3 separate regions of the Homo sapiens genome follow, and all the other regions are linked to region 2. Evidence: promoter capture Hi-C in human tissues and cell types (Jung and others, 2019). All regions are on one chromosome and are shown on one strand. Each heading gives the region's core, a stretch centred on a gene start or on the middle of the fragment in contact. The rest is flanking DNA. Distances are from core to core; before and after follow the strand shown.

Evidence for each region. The method cuts DNA at HindIII sites, captures the fragments that hold promoters and counts their contacts. A contact is called where the count stands out against the background at its distance.
Region 1: a contact is called between a fragment that was not itself captured here and the fragment with the promoter of TMCC3 in region 2, in 1 of the 25 tissues and cell types used here (bladder).
Region 3: a fragment that was not itself captured here is called in contact with the fragment with the promoter of TMCC3 in region 2 in 1 of the 25 tissues and cell types used here (aorta).

The regions. Positions count from the first base shown.
Region 1 is chr12:94,451,564-94,456,390 of GRCh38, forward strand. All of the region lies in intron 1 of CEP83 (centrosomal protein 83), which reads right to left. Among named protein-coding and RNA genes, the nearest start is that of CEP83, 5.9 kb to the right of the region's middle. RefSeq lists a silencer at 4,232-4,381. The HindIII fragment of the contact is 6,878 bases long and covers 1-4,827 here.
Region 2 is chr12:94,648,356-94,653,024 of GRCh38, forward strand. TMCC3 (transmembrane and coiled-coil domain family 3) reads right to left here and starts at 2,202. Exons shown (of 4, transcript NM_020698.4): 1 at 1,998-2,202. The coding sequence starts at 2,075. It overlaps LOC105369914 (a long non-coding RNA gene), which reads left to right. Exons shown (of 2, transcript XR_945225.4): 1 at 1-1,248; 2 at 2,550-2,647. RefSeq lists silencers at 1,446-1,575, 1,666-2,135, 2,156-2,325 and an enhancer at 1,654-2,369. The HindIII fragment of the contact is 17,613 bases long and covers 1-4,669 here.
Region 3 is chr12:94,871,811-94,876,601 of GRCh38, forward strand. No RefSeq gene overlaps it. Among named protein-coding and RNA genes, the nearest start is that of MIR492, 40 kb to the left of the region's middle. RefSeq lists silencers at 1,325-1,444, 1,505-2,114, 2,125-2,224. The HindIII fragment of the contact is 3,754 bases long and covers 433-4,186 here.

The sequences.
Region 1 (4,827 bases), core at 936-3,435, 200 kb before region 2:
ATTACTGTGCAGGGAAATGCAAATTAAAATTACAATGGGATACTACTAGATACTAACTAGAATGGCTATAATTAAAAAGATAATACCAACTGTTGGTGAGGATGTGGAGAAACTGGAATCATCATACATTGCTGGTAGGATGTAATTGGTACAGCTACTTTGGAAAACATTTTGACAGTTTCTTTAAAAGTTAAAAATAAGCTTACCATATAATTCAACAATTCCACTCCTAGGAATTTACCCAAAACAAATGAATACATATGCTCACACAAGGAATTACAGACAAATCTTCATAGCAGCATTATTCATAACAGCCAAAAACTGGAAACCATCCAATGTCTATCACCTAGTGAATGGGAAATACTATTCACTGGTTACCAGTAAATGGGAAATACTATTCACCAATACTATTCAACTGGTGAATGGAAAATACACACGAATACTATGCAACAATTAAAAAGAACAAAACATTGATATACATACATTAAATAAACCTCAAAAGCATGAAGTTAAAGAAGCCAGATGCAAAAGACTACTGTATTGATTCCATTTATATGAAATATGTAGAAAAGACAAATTTATAGTGATAGAAAGTAGATCAGTGGTTCTCTGGGGCTGTGGGAAGGAGTTACCTTAAATGCAAATAAGCTTGAGAGAATCTAGGAGACTGATAAAATGTCAGAAATTGCCTTGTGATGACAGTCGCACAACTCTATAAAGTTGCTAAAAACCATTAAATTGTACACTTACAATGAGTGGTTTTTATGGTAGGTAAAATATATCTCAATAAAGCTGTTTAAAAAGGGCTAGGTAGAAGAAAGAAGTTATCTCTTCCAAACTTTGGAAAATTTGTTGATAGTTGTAGTAATCAAGGCTGAGTTCAAAGGATGACCAAGCAAAAAGAATCCAGGTTCTTAAAGATTATCACTAAGCCACTTAATTGACAATCTTAGAACCACCTATCTCCAGACTTCTTACATGTGAGATAATACAATTTCCTTCTTAAGGCTTTAAAAAAGAAAAAGAAAAAAGAATAACGTTGCTAATTCTAAGGGACACAGGACATGTTCATTCCATTACAGAAAATTTGTAATATCATCCATAGAGGAAGATATCAAAGAAAAGGCAGGAATTTTGGTGGATCTTGAAGGATGAAAGAATATGACGGGGGATGGGGAAGGAAAAGAAGGGTATGTAGTTCAGAAGAGTCATTAATAATGGCAAGGATAAAAATCAACAATGCCCACTAAAAGTCAAGTTTACAGCTTACCTTATTTTAATCCATACATTAAGGACCAAAAAATTAAGTAACTGGTTCAAAAAGTTACGCAGCTAGTAATCTAACCTTCACTCTCAGGATCCAGGCTCCAAAGTACATACTCTTTCCTCTGTTACGCTGCTAAACAAGGACTTAAACTACCCCCATTTGCAAGTTCAGATCTTTGTAGAGGGCATCTTTATTTAGATAGGTTTACATTTATAGGACTACACACTCAATGTTTCTTGAGCAACAATTTCCATTTAATCAATAAACTAAATGTGATGTGCATTCTTTCTTTGGTTTCCAAAACGTTACCCTACTCTGGTTTTCCTACCTTCTTTCTCCCCCTTCCTATTACATGCTGGTGTTCACAAGCTCTCTTCTGATTCTACACAACTCTCACTAGGAACCTCATCTATACCTGGTATTTCAACTACCACTAACGTTGATGACTCTTCTCTCTCTCCAACTTCAAGAATTGTTTTCCTAGTTTTCTTTGACTAACTTCCTCCGGGCCAAGTTGAATACTGCTCTGTACACCCTACAACTACACTTACAAGATTCTAAAGAGACATTCCTCAATTTTTGTGTATTCTTTCTAGTTCTAGGCCAGGTATTCTTCCTACATGCCCCAAAACACATTCTTATCTATCCTTATAGCATTTAACATGCTTTATTACAAATTACTAATTACTTTGTCCATTTCTCCCATCAGAGAATAAGGTGCTTGAGACTTAGCACTATGTCTTATTCACAATCTCCCCAGTGCCTAGCATAGCATGAGACACATAATAGGCACTCAAATATTGATTAAACCCATATATAAGAGAAATAAAATTTGCTTTAAATTGGAAGCATACCATTTCTGAAGGAAACTTTCAGAGATTTATGTTTTCAAATGAGAAAATAGGCCATGAAAGGTGAAGTGACTCACCCAGTCAAGCCTTGGTCTCCTGAATCACAATTCTCTTCCCACAAAATTACAGTGCCTAGGCCGGGCGCAGTGGCTCACACCTGTAATCCCAGCACTTTGGGAGGCCAAGGCAGGTGGGTCATAAGGTCAGGAGATCAAGACCATCCTGGCTAACATAGTGAAATTCCGTCTCTCTTAAAAATCAAAAAATTAGCTGGGCATGGTTGCATGTGCCTGTAGTCCCAGCTACTTGGGAGGCTAAGGCAGGAGAATCGCTTGAACCCAGGAGGCAGAGGTTGCAGTGAGCTGAGATCACACCACTGCACTCTAGCCTGCTGACAGAGTAAGACTATGTCTCAAAAAAAAAAAAAAAAATTAGAGTACCTATTAAATTGTGCTTAGTGATCTCAGCTTTCTATGAAGCTCTAGAAGTAATACAAAAATGTTATAAAGAACCATTTCAACTTCATCCACTCCAGCTCTGGCTGGCTATATCAGTTGTAGAGAAGTCTGTTATTACATAATACTTTTTCTGCCCAGAATAATCTTTAATTGAACCAGTATTTTCACGTGTCCTTCACACAAAAAATAATTCAATACATACTTATTGAGACATGAAGCCAGCTGGGATTCTGGGTCCGGTGTGGACTTGGAGAACTTTTCTGTCTAGCTAAAGGATTGCAAATGCACCAATCAGCGCTCTGTGTCTAACTAAAGGTTTGTAAACGCACCAATCAGCACTCTGTAAAAACGGACCAATCAGCACTCTGTAAAATGGACCAATCAGCTCTCTGTAAAATGGACCAATTAGCAGGATGTGGGTGGGGCCAAATAAGGGAAGAAGAGCTAGGCACCTGAGCCAGCAGCAGCAACCCACACGGGTCCCCTTCCATGCCGTGGAAGCTCTGTTCTTTTGCTCTTCGCAATAAATCTTGCTGCTGCTCACTCTTTGGGTCCACACTGCCTTTATGAGCTGTAACACTCACCACGAAGGTCCGCAGCTTCACTCCTGAAGCCAGCGAGACCACGAACCCACCGGGAGGAATGAACAATGCCGGACGCGCCACCTTTAAGAGCTGTAACACTCACTGCGAAAGTCTGCAGCTTCACTCCTGAAGCCAGCAATACCACGAACCCACCGGGAGGAATGAACAACTCCGGACGCGCCACCTTTAAGAGCTGTAGCACTCACTGCAAAAGTCTGCAGCCTCACTCCTGAAGTCAGCAAGACCATGAACCCACCAGAAGGAAGAAACTCCGGACACATCTGAACATCTGAAGGAACAAACTCCGGACACACCATCTTTAAGAACTGCAACATTCACCACGAGGGTCCGCAGCTTCATTCTTGAAGTCAGCGAGACCAAGAACCCACCAGAATGAACCAATTCCGGACACATTATCATGCATCTCTATGTGGAAAACAATGTGAAAGAAGTTATAATTCATCAGTACTCTAAAAAATATCCTTAAGAGCATATATTGCATGCCCCTTAAGTTTAACAATATCTGAAATAGCTGCCTTAAAACAAAATGCAATCACACTTGAGAGAGGCTGAATATGAACATCAGAGATAGGCAATGCAACTTCATCAGGAAAATCCCTATAGTCCAATGCTACTGTTTTCAAGGGTTGCTATATTATACTGCAATTGTGTTACTGGGCAACAACTCAGAAGCTAGAATGGCAAATTCACTCAAGAAGTAACTGAATCAAACGAATATTTATGAAAGCATTCTGAGACTCAACTTCACTTTCTATATCTTCAACTGAAGTAACTCTTTGTTATAAGCATTAGATACAGGATTTTTGGTGAGACTGTAAAAACTACATGGACATTTTATAGACATATTTTGAGACAGAAGATAGGTGCTTTCCAAAAGGGAATGGCCAGGTTTAGGTTCCTACTAACTCTGAATTTTAATCCAAAAGCAATCTGAAGTCACAATATACAGAAGGCAAATAACTGGGCATTTCCTTAATTTCTTCCATCCTGGATTATAGCTCAGTTAAAAGAAATAGTAGGCCGGGCGCATTGGCTCACACCTACAATCCCAGCACTTTGGGAGGCCAAGGTGGGTGAATCACTTGAGGCCAGGAGTTCCGAGACCAGCCTGGCCAATGTGGTGAAACCCTGTCTCTATTCAAAATACAAAAAAAAAGCCAGGTGTGGTGGCATGCACCTGTTAGCCCCAGCCACTTGGGAGGCTGAGGCAGGAGAATCACGTGAACCCACGAGTTCAAGGTTGCAGTGAACAAAGATTGCACCACTACGCTCCAGCCTGGGCGACAGAGCAAAACTCCATCTCAAAAAAAAAAAAAAGAAAAAAGAAATAGTACTAGACTTGACAGTCAGTGATCTCTCCATGACCTAGAGAGGGCAGTCCTGATGAAAAAAATATAATTAATAAACTGATATTCTACTAGGAACCAGGAAATTGACCAAACTCCCCAAGCCCACTGAAGAATAGTGCCAGCATTCCTGAGAGTCCTTACTGCTGGTATTGCCATGGGAAATTCTCAAATACTCACTTTCTAGGAACAGAATCTTTATTTCTGATTCCGTGAATTCCCACTCTTCAATCTTTTTTATAGTTTACTGTTGCCATTTCCCCTTCACTTACTCTCTTCTCTCAACAACCTTACTTTCAT
Region 2 (4,669 bases), core at 952-3,451:
AGCTGGGATTACAGGCGCCCACCACCACGCCCGGCTAATTTTTGTATTTTTAGTAGAGACAGGGTTTCACCATCTCGGCCAGGCTGGTCTTGAACTCCTGACCTGGTGATCCACCTATCTCGGCCTCTCAAAGTGGTGGGATTACAGGCATGAGCCACCGCCCCCGGCCCGTCAGCAGAATTTTAAAGAAAATCAAGAAATCACATAAGGTTTTGACCTTTTAATAGAAAAGACTGGCGTAGACAGGCAACAGTGGCAGATGCGGCAGAAACACTCTGCAGTTACCTTACACAATTGCTTTACCACATTCCACCTAAGCAGTTGAGGCACAAACTTTATCACCACCATTTTACAGGTTATGAAGAGTGAGTTTTGTAAAGTTGCATGAGTTTTGCCAAACCACTTAAATGAGTTGACAATGAGCCATCCATCCCGCTAAGATTACTAATCTTGTTTACACAAAGAAGATCACAGTTGTGACAAGAAAAAACAAGCTTTCACATTTCAAGTCTGCAATATTAACTTTACAGAATCCTCTCAATTACAAATGCATTCGAAGATGATCTCCTTTTCTTCATAGTTCTGTTAACTAGCATTACAGCTATCCAAGAAGAAATGTCTACCTGTGGGTAAGCACATTTCTTCAATGTTTATTCCAAATGGAGTTTCTGGTTATTTTCACAGCAAACTGTTACGAAACTTATACACAAAGTGCAAAAACAAGAGAATTGTAAGATTGAGATGAGTGCATGAGGTATTATTCCACCAAATATATTCAATCTGTAAAAACTCAAATCATCCTTCCAAAATGATTAACAGATGCTAAAGGAAAAAGGGAAAGCGGGCAAATAAACCAGAGACTCATTGCTTCACTTCTGGGGCAATCGATTACTACTTCAAATTATGAGTGAAGACCAAAATCCTGCACAAAGGGCCGCGACACAACCCCGTCACTATTGCTACTATTTCCATCCAGTTGGTCTCTCGATCTTGGAAGTGGCAGGCCAGAATCTGAGCCCGGCTCTCCCTCCGTGAACTTTACACAGAGGCTGACACCCAAATCCCCAGTTCTCGGACAAGCGAGTAAGTAGTTGGCGGAGCAAAGAACAACTCCAGGTGCCTCCTGCCAGAACAGATGCCAGCGTGGAGGAGGTGCTTTGTTAAATGGCACTTCAATCAGCCCTGGGGAGAACGGGTTACAGAGCCTCACATCCAGCCTCGACGATTCAACAGCCCGGGAGGGCAAAGGTATTCACCGGGGAGGGCGAAGGCTTCCTCTCCCAGGACAGACCCGCGCTTGGGCTGCGGCCTCCGTCTTTATTTTGAAGCCCTACAGGGCTCGTCTCTGCAGCAGGCTCAGAATGAGCTATTTTCGCCCACAGCCAAAATCAGCAACAGCAAATTACACTGCAAACAATGGCGAGGGCGCCTGCTCGGCTCGGCTCGAAACTCCGGAGAGGCAGCGCAAAGATTCTGACTTTTCACTTGGGCAGAGCCCGTCCGCCGCCTCCCCGCGCTCCGGCTGCGCACCGCGCTCGGGTTCCGGCCACACGCCCCGAGGACAGGGAGACAGGGCGGCCGCCGGGACGTTCGGCGGGGAGGGCACCGTCACACCCAGGGCGAGACCCCGGAGACCTGGAGACGCGGGGCCGCGGGTGGCCGGGTGGCGGGATTCCCTCGCGGAGCGGCGGGCGCTCCCTGGCGGGGAGGACAGCAGAGCGCGGGCCGTCGGGGAACCGGGCGTCCCGCATAGCGCGCGGGGACCTGGGCGCCGTGAGGGGCAGGCGGACCTGGGATCCCAGAACCGCAGCCTGGGCTCCGACGCCCCCGACGCCCACCCTTTTAGCTCGGAGGATCGGGGAGGCACGGACCTCCGGCGGCAGCGGAGGGCGGCGGCGAAACGCCGGGGGCGCGTGGGTTAGCACTGAGCCGCCGCCCCAGCCCGCCTCGCCCCCGGGCCCGCGCGCACCCGCCGCCCCCCAGCCCGCTGCGCTCACCCGGCTCTTGCAGCGGTGGTGCCGGCCGGGGTACGAGTAGGTCCGGTCCACGGTGAGCGCCGTGTCGCTGCCCGGCATCTCCGCGCTCCGGCCGCGAACTTTCCCGTCTTCTGGGGCTGCCGCGCCGCGAGCCACCGGCTGTGCTCGGGATCACCCTGGGAGCCGCGGGCGAGGGGGCGGCGCGGCTGCTGCAGCTGTTGCCTCTGGTGCCAACACCCGCGCGGCCGCCCTGCGCCGCCGCCGCCGCGGGGTGGGGGAGGCGGGGCAGGAGGCGAGAGTCTCCTCCCCCTTCCCTTCTCCCCGCCTCTCCCGCGCCCCGCAGCCGCCTGGACCCCCCACCCACCCCCGACCCGGGAGGCAATGTCTTCGCCTCCCTCCCTGGCTGAAAGTTGATTCCATCCCCTCCCACACAGCCCTCTTTCTCCCCAAAAGATAAGCGACATCCACACTACACTATCTGTTGACTTATTTTATATATAAAAGGTGACTGTTACTGCAAGAAGTTGACACTTGCCTTAAATGCCTCTTTTTATGTTATTCTCCATTCAACAGGCACTTACTGGGCAGCTGCCATGTACCAGACGCTGGACTAGAGACCAGAGATTTAAAGTAAAAAAATGAAATAAAATAAAAACTCCCCCCGACCATGATTGCCCTGAGCATAGAGCATACTTCCACTTAAACTAAGATCCTACTGTGTTGTGTATTTTAATTTTGCATATCTGGCTCACCTTTATGTTTCTTTCTTTTTTTTTTTTTTTTGAGACTGAGTCTCGCTCTGTCACCCAGGCTGGAGTGCAGTGGCGCAATCTCGGCTCACTGCAAGCTCCGCCTCCCGGGTTCACGCCATTCTCCTGCCTCAGCCTCCCAAGTAGCTGGGACTACAGGCGCCTGCCACCACACCCAGCTAAATTTTTTTGTATTTTTAGTAGAGACGGGATTTCACCATGTTAGCCAGGATGGTCTCGATCTCCCGACCTCGTGATCCACCTGCCCTAGCCTCCCAAAGTGCTGGGATTACAGGCGTGAGCCACTGTGCCCAGCTTACCTTTATGTTTTAAGCTACTTGGAAGTCAGGATATCTTTTCATTTTAGTATTCCCCATTCCCAGTCATCAGTCCCTGCCCACAAGGAATTTGGAGTTTAGAAGAGGAAGGACCATTGGTGAACAATTTAAATATCAGTAACCCCAAACAAAATTCAAAACACCTGTTCTGGCTCTGTAGGGTGTACAGTGGGAGACTGGGCTGAAATATTTAAAGTGCAGCTGTTCCAGAGAGGACCTGGAGCCCAGTGTGACCAGTCCAGGGGGAGGGAAGGATTTCCCTCATAGGGTTCAAAGGGGACGGTAGAGCAGGCTGAAGAAAACTTTGGAGCCCCTAAAATCAGAGGTACATTTGGGAAAACCTCAAGTCATCAGTTTTGGGGAGTGTCCTCAGGAACAGGAAGACATGATGGAAAAGAAGGCAGAGACCATGCAGAATCTTCGTTCAAGGGTAAGAAGTTCAGCCTTATTCTGTGGGAACTGGGTAGCTGTTGGAAATTCTTGAACAGGGAAATGATAGCATGGGAATGGAAGTTTAAGGAGAAGGTATATCTGACATCAGGGTGAAGCAGCGATTGAAGATGGGCAAAACACACTGGCTTCTTAGAAGGCCACTGTAAAGACAGAATAGCCTAATTATCCTTCAGAAGGAGACTAAGTAAATAAATGATGGTACATCATCCAATAGAATATTAGGTAACTGGAATAGAAATGAGGCAGCCCTCTATGAATAGCTTTGGAAGCAAATCTAACATACATGGTTCAGTGGAAAAAAAGCAATGTGCAGGATAATATATATGGCATTCCACCATTTATGTAAAAACAATATATGTTATGTGCTTCTACATGCACGACATATATCTGGGAGGATAAATAAGAAACTAGGGAAACAGACAAGAAATTGATGCCAAGAGAGGGGAACCAGGTAGCTAGAAGGCAGAGATGGAGAGAGATCTAATTTTCACTGTGTATACTTTTGAAACTTGAATGTTTATACTGTGGGCATATATTAACTATTCAGAAAGTAAAATTTTTTAAAAAATGTTTTTTAGAGATAGGGTATCTGTTGCCCAGGCTGGGGTGCAGTGGCACAATCATAGCTCACTGCAGCCTCAAATTCTTGGTCTCAAGGGATCCTCCCACTTCAGTTTCCCAAGTAGCTAGAACTACAGGTGTGTGCCACCATTTCTGGCTAATTTTAAAAATATATTTTTTTGTAGAGAAAGGGTTAAAACTAACTTAAGAAGAAATTGAAAGTCCCATGTAGTCCTTAAGCCATTCAAAAAATTAAATCAACACTTTTAAAAATACCCATCTACCACTACCCCAACACACAACTATACTAGACCCAGAGAGTTTTTCAGGTAAGTTCTTTGAAAGAAGAGAAATACCAAACGCTGGGGTGTGTGTGTGTGTGTGTGTGTGTGTGTGTGTGTGTTGGAGGGAGATTTTAGCTAGGGTGGCTAGAGAAGTCCTCCATGATAAGGTGACCTTGAGCAGAGACTTGGGAAATGAGGAAGCCAGAAGTATAGACATTGAAAATTTCCAGCAGACAAACAGAAAGTCAAGGGCCCTGAACATTTCGGGAGTGTTCAAGGAAGAGCAAGGAGGCCAGTGTTCACTGGAA
Region 3 (4,791 bases), core at 1,060-3,559, 220 kb after region 2:
CACATAGTAGGTGCTTAATACACGTCTTATGGAGGTGGGGGCTGAGTATTTAAAATGCAGATTGCCAAGCTCCAGTTTCAGAGATTCTAACTCATTAGGTTTGAAACAAAGCCTAGGAATCTGCATTTGCAGCAAGCATCCACCTCTTTCATCCTAAGGCAGGTAGTAGGCAGATCACATGTTAAGATACTCTGGTCAATGCCCTCCATCTCCAAATCGTGATTCTCCCTCTAACACGCATTTCTACGGATCCCATCCAGGCTCTTTTCTTTAATTACCCTGAGGCACTGAGAGTAAAAGGAGGTTGCTGACCCCTGAATTTGGAGTTCAAACAAGTAACCTCACCACGGCCAGTTTCCATTTCTGCTGCATGCCAAACTAGCTGGCCAGCCTGGCTGGAATCCTGTTCTCCCCAGAAACACCTGAGCAGGTCTGGACTAGCTCCAAAAGTATAAGCCAGGTAAATTTCCGTGTCAGCTCATTGAGAGACTTTCCAGGGGCAGCTGGGGCCAATTCACATTTGCTCTATACTCCCTCCAAAGACACCCCCTTCAACACACACACACAGAACACTTAATTCTGGTACCACCAGCCAAAAGGGGCCCGAGTTCCCTTGGGAGCAGCCCAGCCGCTGAGAGGCGGAAATCTCTGAAAGGGCCACTCAGATGACCAAAGCAATAGGCGCCTACGTACCTTACAACAAGCCAACCTCAAGTTCCAACCTAGAGAAATGCATGGACTCTGGTGGGAGAGTCTTATTCCGTTTTTGTTTTCTTCTTTTTTTTTGTTTTGTTTTGTTTTGGTTTGGTTTTCTTCCATTTCTTCTCAGCCTTGTCTCTTCAGAAAATACCCCTCCACCCCTTCCTTGGCGCGTAAACTGTCTTCAGGGTGGCCTTAGGAGTTCTGGGACAATGTGGAGGGTACCCAATAGGATTTCCTTAAGTTTCCTCTACTGCTTTTCCACACATATTAATGCTGAGATCCTGTATTTGATTAAAGCACCTTCCATTTCCAAAGTTAAAATACAAACGGGTCTGGTAACTTACAAAGTCGCCAGCATCTTCGTGTCAATTAACTTCCCCAGACAAGTAAGAACGAGCTGCACTAGGGCCTGCGCTCTCTCCGGGGCTAACAACAAGCAGCACCAGTCCCCCAAGCTGTCCCTGGAGGTGGAAGAGCCACTGCAGCTGAGCCTGTTTATTTTTCGTTTTTCCACAGGCAGCCTTGGCTGGAGGGTGGGGGTGAGCGCGGGCTCCCTGGCACCTGCCGGTAAAGCAGCAGCCGCAGCCCCCGAGGGCGCCCCAGGCCAGGAGCTGCGCGCCGTCGGCGGGCCGTGCCTGGAGGAGGCTCGCGCCTTCCAAATGCCGGAGTGCAGGCATCCTTCCTCTCCCCAACCCCAGCCCCGGCCTCGACCTGTCGCCCACCTGGCCCGGACCTGGGGCTGGCTCCGTCTCTGGGGTGTGCGCCAAGGGAGCCCCACCGACGCCCAGCAGAGCTGCCCGGGCTCCCAAAGAAGGACCGGGGCTTTGGGCAGAATTCTGGCAGCCAGGCGGGCGTCAGGGGAGCCGGAGAAGGGGCTCGCCAGCAGGCGTGGGGCGGAGTGCCGGGCGCAGCCCACCTCGCAAGCGCGGGCCCAGGGCTCCGACGTGCCAGCGCAGCCCCGAAGAGTGCGGGCCCGGGGTCCCCGCGGCGCCCCTTCCCCTCCTCAGTCCCCCGGGGGCGACCGCGCTCCCCGCCGAGGTCCGTCCCCGCCGCACCCTCACTATTCCCGCTGGGAGGACCCCGGCGCACGCCCCCGCCCCCGCACCCCGGGGCGACGGCGCACTCACCCTCCGCATGGTGTCTGGGCCGTCCGGGCGGGGCTCGGCGACTTGGGCGCGAGAAGGGCTGGGCCGGCGGCGACGCTCGGCCGGCCGGGAGCTCCGCGCTGCCCCCTCCTGCACACGCCTGCGCCGCGGCCGCCAAGCCGGCGGGGGCGGGGCGGGGTAGCGCTGGCCGCGGGGTCCCCGGGGCTCTCCCGGGCTGCGGCGGAGGCGCGGAGCCGGCCAAGGGCGCACTGAGCTCGCGGAGCTCCGGGGCCCCGGGGCCTTTCTGCCGCCGTCGCAGCGTCCCCGCCTCCTCGGGCCGCTTCGCCCCTCTCCTCTTCCTCGAGTTCTGGCCCCACCAGGAGCGGAGCGAGTCTCCGATGCCTGCCCCGCGGCCCCCAGAACTGAGCTGGAGAAGCTTTGGGGTGAAAGCTGGGCCCACCCTACAGGGACCCCAAGTTTGCGGAGCAAGAGTGGATTGGCGGAGAGCGCAGATGGCAATTCTCACCCGCCTTAAAAGTACCACCTTAAAATTCTCCCCATGGGATGGGAAGGTGGCCCGCTAATGTCCGTTCCTACTCTTCGTTTTCTTTTTAATTTTTCAGACAGGGTCTCGCTCTGTCCCCCAGGCTGAGCGCAGGGGCGCGATTTCGGCTCACTGCAGCCTTGCGATTCTCCCAGGCTCAAGCGATCCTCCCGCCTCAGCCTTCCCAGTAGCTGGGACCACAGGCGAGTGCTCCACTACGCCCGGCTAATTTTTGTATTTTTATTCTTTTGTAGAGACTGGTGTCTCGCCATTTTGCCCAGGCTGGTCTCGAACTCCTGGCCTCAAGCGACCCTCCAGCCTCGGCCTCCCAAAGTGCTGGGATGAGAGGTGTGAGCCAGTGCGTCGGCCCTTTACCATTCTTTAGATTCTGCGATTGTTTTTTGAAAGTCCTGAGCATTCATAAAGCTTTCCGAGGAGGGGTGGGAAGAGAGTTAAGAGCGGTAAACAGCAGATCCACCCGGGGCTGGAGGAAACACCGTGGAACAGAGACCGTCTGGTCTCATTCAGGTGAAGGAGCTCGGCAGGGGAAGAGGTCAGCATCCCCATTCCAGCGAAACCCACGGGTTTTCCTAGCAGTCCCCTGTGTGCACAGCTTTCTCTTCACAATCGACCTCCACCCCAACTTTTCCAAACAACACGGGAGCCCATCCCCAAATGCTAATGCTTCTGCGGGAAAAAAATGAGAAGGGGGAAAAATGTATTCCCCAGATCATGAAAACGCTGCACACCCTTGAGCTCAGAATGCAGGATCTAAATCCGCAAGAACAGGATGGAATGATGTGGGAAGGTCTTCCAGGAAGAAATCTGATTTTATTCTGCTTCGACTGCTGAACAAAGTAAATCAAATAGCACGGAACTCAAGGCAGCCTGAATTTTGTGTAGAAAAAAATATCTCTTGTTTGTCAGAGGATCCTTTGAAAAGCATCCAAGGACGCTTGTGTTTCCAAAGCGGCTGTGACAGGTATGCAGGCAGACAGCAGTGGGAATGCAAAGGCTTGTGCCGGGTAAACACTTCTCATGAGTGTTTCAGCTTTGGCATTGCCTTTATGCCAGTTATTCTGGCAGATCACCACTGCCAAAGAAATACCTTTATAATTTTCTAACATTGATTGTCAGCAGCACTATAGAGACCGTAATATTACACGAAGTACCTTAATGATCTAATGAATAAAAACATTTTGTCTGGATTTCTCTTTGGTGCCTATCAGCACAGATAGGGGGAGGAGTGACTGATGTGTGAGGGGGAAATGTAAGAAACGACAATTAATGACACTTGCTATGTCCCTTTTTTACTTTATCTTATGATCTGTATGCAGTGGGTTTTTTCCTCCCTGGATATATAATCTCTTCTGATTGAGCTTTTATGTTTTTGCCTTTCTTTGGGAAAATAACAATGTTAGTAAGTGTACTTCTGAGCCATACCTGTCTTATCATTTCAATCCACACAACTCTATGAAGTACGTACTGGGATATTATGGTTTTTTTAGAGGGAGATACTCGAGCTCAGAGAGGGCAGGTCATTTGCCCGAGATCATACAGCTTGTTAGTGGCACAGCCTGGATTTCAACTCAGGCAGTCTGACACGAGGACCCTCTCACTTAATGCCCATGCAATACTGCCCTCCTCTGCTTCATAGAAAAGGTGCAACTGTGTAAAGGTGTTCCTGGAAGTAAAAACGTGAGCTTTTGTCATAGATTAGTCACTTGACATCTCAGAGCCTTAGCTTCCTCATCAGTAAAATGACAACTTGGACTAAATAGATGCATTAAAGGCCTAGCCAGAAGTAAAGTTCAAGATTTAGAGTATTACTATGTGAGTATTAGAGTATCAGTATTCTTGCTCAGCATTGTAAGAAATCTTAACCTGGAGATACAGTGTTAGCCACTTCATTGGTTTGTGTGATCTCACCACAGCGCCTTGTTTTAACACTACTTGTGCTGCTTTCTACAACATTACCTCTTCCTGCTCCTTCTAATTAATACTCTTTGCTTTGCAAATGTGATATCTAATCAATTTAATGTTCTTTTTTTTTTTTTCTTTTCTTTGAGACGGAGTCTTGCTCTGTCGTGCCCAGTCTGGAGTGCAGTGGCGCGATCTCGGCTCACTGCTACTTCTGCCTCCTGGGTTTGAGCAATTCTCCCACTTCAGTCTCCCAAGTAGCTGGGACTACAGGCACCCACCACCACACCCAGCTAATTTTTTATATTTTTAGTAGAGGCAGGATTTTACCATATTGGCCAGGCTGGTCTTGAACTTCCAACGTCAGGTGATCCACCTACCTCGGCCTCCCAAAGTGTTGGAATTACAGACGTGAGCCACCGAGCCCGTCCTAATGTTCATTTCTTACTAAACTTGAATAAGACTCCTGGTGTGGGGGAGGGGAGTCAGTTTCAGTTAAGTAGTTGTTAGGATGATCTTGAAGTATTAGTTAGCCTGAAT